Linked DNA regions of Homo sapiens: region 2 is linked to region 1. The links are contacts of gene promoters, found by promoter capture Hi-C in human tissues and cell types (Jung and others, 2019). All regions are on one chromosome and are shown on one strand. Each heading gives the region's core, a stretch centred on a gene start or on the middle of the fragment in contact. The rest is flanking DNA. Distances are from core to core; before and after follow the strand shown.

Region 1 (4,548 bases), core at 1,644-4,143:
CAGTATAGCAGAGAAGCCAGCACATAAGCCTCAGAACCAGCTTGTTCTGCTTTCAAAATCAAGCTCTGCCCTTTATTGGCTGTGTAATTCTGGGTAAGTTACTAAATTCACTCAGTCTTGATTCTTCTCTTATAAAAGGGGATGGGATCTATCTCATAAGATTATTGTGAGGATTAAATGAGATATATAAAATACAAAAGATAGAGCATCAACAATTTAGGATATTAGGTTTCCTCTATGACTAAACGTTTAAAAATCATTTCAATTCAGTTTACCAAAAAAATGATCTTTAAGTTAAAAAAAAAAAAAAAAACACCCAGCCCCTGATGACCTGTTTGACTTGAATGAATTGGAGGGTTATAAAACCACAGATATGGACCAGCTTTTGAAAATCTTGGAGGGAGAATTAATGATTTTCAAGCATTAGAATGTACTTTGATTTGGATACTCTTTAGTTTGTAAGATGGCAAGTTATCTCTTTTTTTCTTTTTTTTTTTTTTTTTTTTTTTTTGAGACGGAGTCTCGCTCTGTCGCCCAGGCTGGAGTGCAGTGGCGGGATCTCGGCTCACTGCAAGCTCCGCCTCCCGGGTTCACGCCATTCTCCTGCCTCAGCCTCCCAAGTAGCTGGGACTACAGGCGCCCGCCACTACGCCCGGCTAATTTTTTTTGTATTTTTAGTAGAGACGGGGTTTCACCGTTTTAGCCGGGATGGTCTCGATCTCCTGACCTCGTGATCCGCCCGCCTCGGCCTCCCAAAGTGCTGGGATTACAGGCGTGAGCCACCGCGCCCGGCCATCTCTTTTTTTCTTTTTTTTTTTTTTTTGAGACAGAGTCTTGTTCTGTCATCCAGGCTGGAGTGCAGTGGCACAATCTTGGCTCACTGCAACCTCTGCCTCCCAGGTTCAAGTGATTCTCGTGCCTCAGCCTCCCAAGTAGCTGGGACTACAGACGCACGCCACCATGTCTGGCTAATTTTTTGTATGTTTAGTAGAAATGGGGGGTTTTACCATGTTGCCCAGGCTGGTCTCGAACTCCTGAGCTCAAGCAATCCACCCACCTCAGCCTCCCAAAGTGATGGTATTACAGGTGTGAGCCACCATGCCTGGCCTGCAAGTTACCTCTTGATTTAAAATATTTTCCAATCATGAAGGAAATTGACTTGATTCTGCTACTTCCCTCCACCTCTGACTTTGGGGGTAGGGGACAGATAAGCAGAAACTGCTGAACATGACCCTCAGCCGGCTGGGCAGCCATCCCTCAGCCACAGTGAGCTTGATTTGCGTGTTCCAGTAGGAAGCAAGGAGTCAGGTCCTTCTCTAGTCCTGGGGAACAGGAGAAGGGTGGGGGAACCCCTGATTCCTCCCCTTCTGTAGCCAAAGCAGACTAGTTTAGGGAGGAGACAGGGAAACCACCAGAGCAGGTCAAGATCAACCTGAAGGAAGTGGGAGTCAGGGACAACCTACTAAAGGAAGTGCATGTGTGCCTTGTACATGCATGGGGTGGACCAAGGAAAAGATTTACCCTAAAAGAACAAAGTATGCTCCGACAAATCTATTGAAAGGAATGATTTACACTGGTGCTTCCTGCCCAAATGTTGAGACCAATGGCCTGGTGCTTCCTTCTTGAAACTAGGTTGCTCTACTTACATGAAACAAACTGGGCAGAGGTCAACCGTGAGAGCCTGAGCCTCCCCAAGTAAACAGCAAAAGATTCCCCAGGCCCAACAGCCCCCACCCCCACCTTCAAGGAAAGTGGATCTACCCGGAGCACGTAGGCCAGAGGAGGCAGGAGAAGAGGGTCAGTCCGTGAGCTCCGGGTACCTGGAGAACATGAATCTCCCGGGTGTACTGTCCCCATGAGGGTCACCGAGGAACCTATGGATCTTCCACTCTTCGCCCAGAATGTCTTCCCTCTATCCCCTCCACCTCCCCAAATTCCAGCACCAGGGGCCACCTCAGAGCCACAAATCCTGAAAGGACCACCCAGGTGACTCGGGCCCACACACCCCTCTTTCGGGGTACACTTGGTGGCAGGCTAGCAGGCTTTTGGCCTCAGCTGGTGGTGCCATATAACCAGATTCGTCACAGAGACCCATTTTTTATCAGTCCCAGGCCAGAAGTACGAAGACTGATCTTAACGATGTGGCCTGCCTGGGAGGTAAGGCGGCAGGCGTTGCCAGAATTGATGGGAACTGTGGCACAGGTGGGAAACCTGGTTTAACAAATTCTTCATTGATTCAGGGGACCACTTTCCTTGAGCCAAGTCTTGGCAAGCGGCCGGCGAAACTCACAGGTCCCTTTCCTGGCTGCGTCCCCAGCCTCCAGCCTTCCCCGCCCCAGAGATGCCCCAGGAGCGGCCCCTCGGTGTAGGTAACGGGTGCCCGGGCGGCTCCGCTCCGCCGCCTAGAGCCTGGAAGCCGCCACTGCGGCCCAGGACAATCCGGCTACGCGGCCGGCGCCGACCCCGCACGCTGGAGTCCGCTGCCGCACGGCGCTGGCAGTCGGGGGTGGTGTCTGAAGTCAGGCGCTTCCTGCCTTTTCGTCGGCCCGGGTGCCCGGCTCGCGCCGCCAGGCTCTGGGATCCCAGGTCGCCCCGCCCAGCAGCCCGCGCCCTGCTCGGTGCGCTCAGCGTCCCCGCCCCTTACCCCAAACCCCCACCCTCTGTGCCCTCAGGGGGGCACCCCCATCGGGGCGGGAGGGGGGGGTCAGCTGTGCCCCGGTCGCCGAGTGGCGAGGAGGTGACGGTAGCCGCCTTCCTATTTCCGCCCGGCGGGCAGCGCTGCGGGGCGAGTGCCAGCAGAGAGGCGCTCGGTCCTCCCTCCGCCCTCCCGCGCCGGGGGCAGGCCCTGCCTAGTCTGCGTCTTTTTCCCCCGCACCGCGGCGCCGCTCCGCCACTCGGGCACCGCAGGTAGGGCAGGAGGCTGGAGAGCCTGCTGCCCGCCCGCCCGTAAAATGGTCCCCTCGGCTGGACAGCTCGCCCTGTTCGCTCTGGGTACGTACGCCGGCTGCGGCGCCCCCTGCGCCGCGCGACACCCTGCTTCCCCCGGTCCCCGCCGAGTTCCCCTTTCCGGGGGTTTCTGCGCCCGCCTGGGAGAGTGGAGAGAAGCGAGTAGTCTCAATGGGTTGGCGCCTGGGAGGCAAGGGGAGTCATTAAGAATGACAAAGAGGGGACTGTCCGGTCGAGCGCCGAGGCTTCCCCGGGAAAGTGGCTGCCTGGGCCGTGCGTGAGAACACCTGGGAAGGGGAAGCGGAGTGTGAACGGGCTTGAACTTTAATCCGCCGCAGCTGTGTGTCTGCTCAGACACATGCCTACACCTACCTGCTTACCTGGCTGCCTCCAAGCCCGGCTCAGCCGGCGTCGCTGGCGTGTAGACTGGGCCGCCTCGGAACGGGGGCCGGCGTCTAACCCTCTGGCCGGGTCTTGCCTGCGCCCCTTTGGCACCCCCTGCCCACCTCTAAGCCCCAGCGACGAGCAGAGATGTTCAAGATCGGCAGAGGCGCCCTCGATCTCTTTTCAGAGCTCTTGAGCTTTGGGGGTAGGTTTTGGATTTTTGGGCGGATTAATGGTTCCTTTAATTAACTTCCCTGGGAGAAGTGGTTTCGGTGTCCGCCGAGGGCAGGAGCGAAACCCTAGACCGAGTGTTGCCAGTTTCCTTTGAGTATGTCCTTGGAAATGAAGGAGGGATGGGAAAGGTGAGGGGAAGTTAAACCCCTCTCCCGGGTCGGGTCTGCGGAGCGGTGCGTTTTTTGGCGGTGAAGTTCAAGGGTCTGTCTGGACGCGGTGAGGGCGCAGCGCCGCGCGCCTCCTGGCCAATTCTTGCCCCTTGTGCTGGTGGGTCTCTCTGGTGTTGAGATAGCTGATCAATAGCGCAGGTGTCCTGGTTATTGCTAGTCTTCCGTGAAGTGAATTGTTCGTTCGATATGCCCCGAGTTTAACCCGTATAGCATGCGGCTCGCTGCAGGGTGGTTAGAGTCTGTGGAAAGCCATGGAACTCCTCCCCAGAAATGCCCAGAGCCGCAGCCTCACCCAGCTCCGTGTACAACTACAGGGGGTTCGCGGCCCCGCCTGCAAGCCTGCCCTAGAAACGCTGATTAAAAACCGCAGCAGAAGGGGAGGCATCCTGTAAGAGAAATACAAGGCAGTCTTGGAACCGGATGCTCCCAGCTACACCCTTACCTGAAACTCACCAGCAGGTAACATGGGTATGGGAGGCTTTTCCCCCACATTTTTGAAGAATTGCCTTTTTTGTGTGCATGTATTGACTGTTGCTCTGATTTAAATTTTAGAAAAAGCAATAAAACATTACCAATACAAGGGAAGCTTCCTGGATATAATTATCCCTTGTAATGTTTTTGCAAATAATAGTAGTAAGTAGTAGTAGTAATAACAGCTGATGCTATTCGAGCATTTTACTCTGTGTCAGACACAGTCCAAGTGCTTTACATTTATTCATGCAGTTTTCACACCAACCGGATAAAGAAGGTGTTAATATTATTCTCATTATATAGCAGAGGAAAGTAAAGCACACAGGGTCCACAGTAAGTAACT
Region 2 (4,460 bases), core at 1,343-3,842, 160 kb after region 1:
TATGTCATTCTCACTCAAAAAATTTTCTGTTCCTTGCTGACAAGGTTTTCCTTGTTTCGAACAGAAGTCTCTTCAGCTTTAATTTCTATTTTCAGTCATCCAGAGATAGAACGAATATGTGTTTCCAAAAAAGTTTTAATGCCAAATTGGGTTGGGGACAAGGAGGGCTGCAAAGGCCATGGTACTTGAGGGAACAGTGAGAGGAAAGGGCCCTGGTCTAAGTGCTAGATACACAGGCCTTAGATTTCCTTCATGTGCCATTACTTTGCTGTGAACAAGATTGTTAATTTAAGAACATATTTCTCAAAGAAGGGAGAGATCACAGCCCAGTCTCCAGGAGTTAAAAGGGTAGTCTTTGGCATAGGACAGACCCGGGTTTTCGTTTTGGCTGTACCTCTTACCAGTTGTGAGATGTTGGGCAAGTTATCTCCCTGGGGCTCATTTTTCTCATCTGTAAAATAAAGACCATATCTATGTCATAGGTCATGTGAAGAGTATATGGAATCATGTTGACAGAACATGGCAAGCCCTGAACTGACCTTAACTAGACCTGGCAGTATATTAGGGTCCAATCCCCACCCTCTTCTCCCCTTCCCCCACTGCACAGGTGGGTTCCTGAATTGTTCTTGCTGCCTTAAATTAGTACAGCCCCAAACTGCAACCTGTAATCTTCCCTCTGACACTGAACAAAGGCCTTCAGGCCAAAAACTCATCCTCTGCCTTGGGTTTCTGAGTATACCCTTGATGAGGCTAAAAGTGGGCCCCAACCCACCTTGTTTAGCATACACTAACCCTGACTCCTTGCCTAGCATGCACTAGCACTGACTCCTTGCCTAGCATGCACTAGCCCTGGCTCCTTGCCTAGCATGCTTTAGCACTGACTCCTTATCTAGCATGCACTAGCCCTGACTCCTTGCCTAGCATGCACTAGCCCTGACTCCTTATGTAGCATGCACTAGCGCTGACCCCTTGTCTAGGATGCAGTAGCCCTGACCCCTTGTCTAGCATGCACTAGCCCTGACTCCTTGTCTAGCAGGTACTAGCTCTGACTCTTTGTCTAGCATGTACTAGCCCTGATTCCTTGTCTTGCATGTACTAGCTCTGACTCTTTGTCTAGCATGCACTAGCCCTGACTCCTTGTCTAGCATGCTGTAGCTCAGACTCTTCGTCTAGCATGTACTAGCCCTGACTCTTTGTCTAGCACGCTCTAGCCTTGACTCCTTGCCTAGCATACACTAGCCCTGACTCCTTGTCTAACATGTTCTCGCTCTCACTCCTCACCTAGTATTCACTAGCCCCCTCTCTGGGACCTGGTACATTCTACCTTAACCCTCTCCTGCTGGCTATAACCCTGCTTTGCCTCCCACACACATCTCTAGAACTAGGGCCTCACTCAGAACCTCCTATTGCCTCACCTCAGTCACTAGCCACAACTCTAAAGATGCTGGCATAACCTTGCCCAAACTGAAGGTCACTGTGTCCTCTAAGATTCTAACATCCAAATGCCACTACCTCTTGGTCCCTGTAGCCCTAGCTCACCCTCTAGCTGGCTCCTCCTCTGCTGATAGCCTGCTTGCTTCACACCTGAGGCACTGAAGGTAGCCTTTATCTTGTTTTACCTTCCACAGCAACTTTTGAATTGCCCCATTTCACAGATGAGAAAACTGAGCCCCAGAGATATTTGGTAATTTGCCCAATGTTCATGACTAATAACCTCCAGAGAACTTGGGGCCCCCTGACCTCTAATTCAGGTTCCACTCAGCTTCCTGTGTCACAGATCCAAACATCAGAAGAGCCAGCTCCCTAATTTGCACTTTGGATGGCAGTGAATTAAACTTTAAAGACTTGGCAGGTAGTGCTGTTCCTGACTCCCAGGCATTTGGCAGTGGTTGGTATATGTTTCCAGAGATACATTTCTACATGAAGGAAAAAAAGAGGGAACATATTTCTGTTTGACTAATAAACATCCAATCCCAAGGGCTCTACAAAATTTTAAGCCCTCAAATGGCACAGAGACCTGCCCAGTGAAAGACAAGGAAGTATTGAGTCGGGCAGAAACATCTGATTTTATTTGCAAAGGGGCCGTTTGGGATATAAGTGCTGTTAACATGATCCCAGGAGGAGGGAAACAGAATTTTCCAAGGCTCTCCCACAGTCAGTGAACTCTGTCTCTCAGAGGACATGGGGCCTTGGTGTCTGACCAGCCAGAAGCTTAGCCCACAAGTCTTGTGTGTGCACAGGTAGGCACAATAGAATCAGCCCTGGTGGCCTTGAAATGACATTCAACGTTATCAGGAGGAAAAGACTCCAACACATCAGTCTGAAAACAAGATGTCTCAGCCCTCATCACCATTGGAAATGACCTTGTTAATTAAATTGTTTATGTATATTCCATGGGGTCAAGGATGTTGCCTATTCACTGCTGGGTCCCCAGCTCCTAAAAGTGTCTGACATACAGCAGGAGATCAGTAAACATTCTTTGAGTGCACATATTATAGTTTCCATCTTGGACCTTCTTTGTTAGACACCAGCAAGACAAAAGGTACTGTGCTTTCATGGTCCTGGGGTGGGGTAAGCCAGGTCGCCAGCCCTAGTCTGCTGCCCAGGGGTCAGAGGTTATTGCCTGGTATGACCAGGATAGGGGAGGTCAAGGGCATCTATCCTAGTTATACCTTTGTTTATTTGTTTTAAATAACAAGTATTATCATGAATTTCTTTGCCAAAAGGCCCATCTCATTAAACCTACCAAATATCCTCCCTATCCAAAACTTAGTTGTAATTAATAATGATTACTATTGGCTATCATTTACTGATTGATCACCATGTGCTATGTATATATTATCTTATCAAGTTCTTAAAGCATCTCAGATTTGTATTATCCCTATTTTACTGATGAAGAAACTGAGGCTTGTAGAAGCTAAGCAATTTGGTCTAGGTTATACAGCTGTTAAGCAAGGGATACAAGCTGTGGACTTGAACCAAGTCTATTCAAAGCCCCTGACCTTCGCCACTATGCTATACTGCCTCTCACAAGGTCATAAAATTAGTAAATTGCTTGTTTTTTTCTCTTAAGTCAAAATTTCACAAGGAAAACCATCCAGCCCAGATTCTCCTATCAGACTTGGATTATTCAGTTACCTCCTGGAAAGCAGCAAAACTGCCTTTCTGAGCTGACTGGGTCACTGAGGTCATCTCTCCCTGACATGCTATCAGAGTCAGATCAGAACAACTGAAGTGGAGACCAGGCATGGCAGCCTTTACCTGCCACGAATGATATAGATGGTGGCAGCATCACAAAAGGAAATCAACTTGGGCTTTCATTCAACTTGCGGTCTCCCCTCTGTGGGTCTTTCCTACCTTTCACCTGTCTTGGGAAGAAGTAGGCATGGGTGAATTAGTTTACAGAAGTGTGCCAGAGCTCTGGGCACAAGGTGCCACTTCCTTAGGTCATGTGCATCCTCCACCTAGGAAAGACCAAAGCTCACCCAGAATCCCTCCTGATATTTTCAATAATAAAGGTTATGGTGGGTTCCTGGTATCCTCCCAGGAGGTGGTTCTCCCAAGGGTGTTAAAAAATATATATATCAGTTCTCCCTTGTTAAATGTGTGGTTTCCTATAATAGCTTGACATGGGCCATTACTCCATCCAGCACCACTCTATCTTCTTGAACCCTCAACCTCACCAGCTTACCTATTACATTAACTCCCAAGACAATGTCATCTCTATCCTCTTGGAAGGGAATGAGGCCTAGGACTCCATCTGAAGAGGGGTCACAGTTCTGACTGACTCAGGAAGGATGGATGTCTACCAGTCTCCATTTGCTAGAGAAGGGTTCGGTAGGCATCCAAAATTCTACCCTCTCAGAAGAGCCACCCCACACCATTTCCAGTGGCTGCCTCGGGGAAGGCCATGCAATAGTCCTCAGCTTTCCATCAGAGCTGGCAGTCCAAAATCAATCTCTCATCTGTGCCACTGGCAGCGCCCTCCATTGTGGGTGCCAAGAAAGTGGTACTTAAGCTGGGGGGTCAAGCAGAAAGGAAAAGATACATAACTGCAGCTGCACCGTGTCATGACGTCAGGGTCTAGAAACTGAAGAAGGCACGGGAGGGAGAAAGAAAAGGGATGTTTGTTGGGAAACCATCTCACACAGTCCAAATTAAACAGGCTGTTTGCTCAAGTCTACTTTCCATTTCTGCCCCTCTCTCTACTAATTATTACCTCTCCTAAAACCTTTCTCCCTTAACCCAATGTCCCACTTCTAAAAGAGTCTAAGGAATTCTTCCTGATCCTTTAAGAGCCTGAATTGCTGCATAAACTTAGTATCACTGGTCCCATTTTAAAATGCCAAGAACAAAGCAAGGCCCATGTCCTCTCCTTGAAGTCTTTCTTGAAAATTGCAGCCATCTCTGATCTCTCTCCCACCTCACCAGTCTTGAAATTTACTGACTGTATCATCCAT

What was found. Contacts are between HindIII fragments. The study calls those that stand out against the background at their distance.
Region 2: a fragment that was not itself captured here is called in contact with the fragment with the promoter of TGFA in region 1 in 1 of the 25 tissues and cell types used here (thymus).

What each region holds. Positions count from the first base shown.
Region 1 is chr2:70,552,171-70,556,718 of GRCh38, reverse strand. TGFA (transforming growth factor alpha) reads left to right here and starts at 2,893. Exons shown (of 6, transcript NM_003236.4): 1 at 2,893-2,991. The coding sequence starts at 2,952. It overlaps LOC124907824 (a long non-coding RNA gene), which reads right to left and starts at 4,011. Exons shown (of 2, transcript XR_007086906.1): 1 at 3,327-4,011. RefSeq lists a silencer at 2,763-2,832. The HindIII fragment of the contact is 16,400 bases long and covers 1-4,548 here.
Region 2 is chr2:70,388,629-70,393,088 of GRCh38, reverse strand. No RefSeq gene overlaps it. Among named protein-coding and RNA genes, the nearest start is that of FAM136A, 89 kb to the right of the region's middle. The HindIII fragment of the contact is 6,530 bases long and covers 1-4,460 here.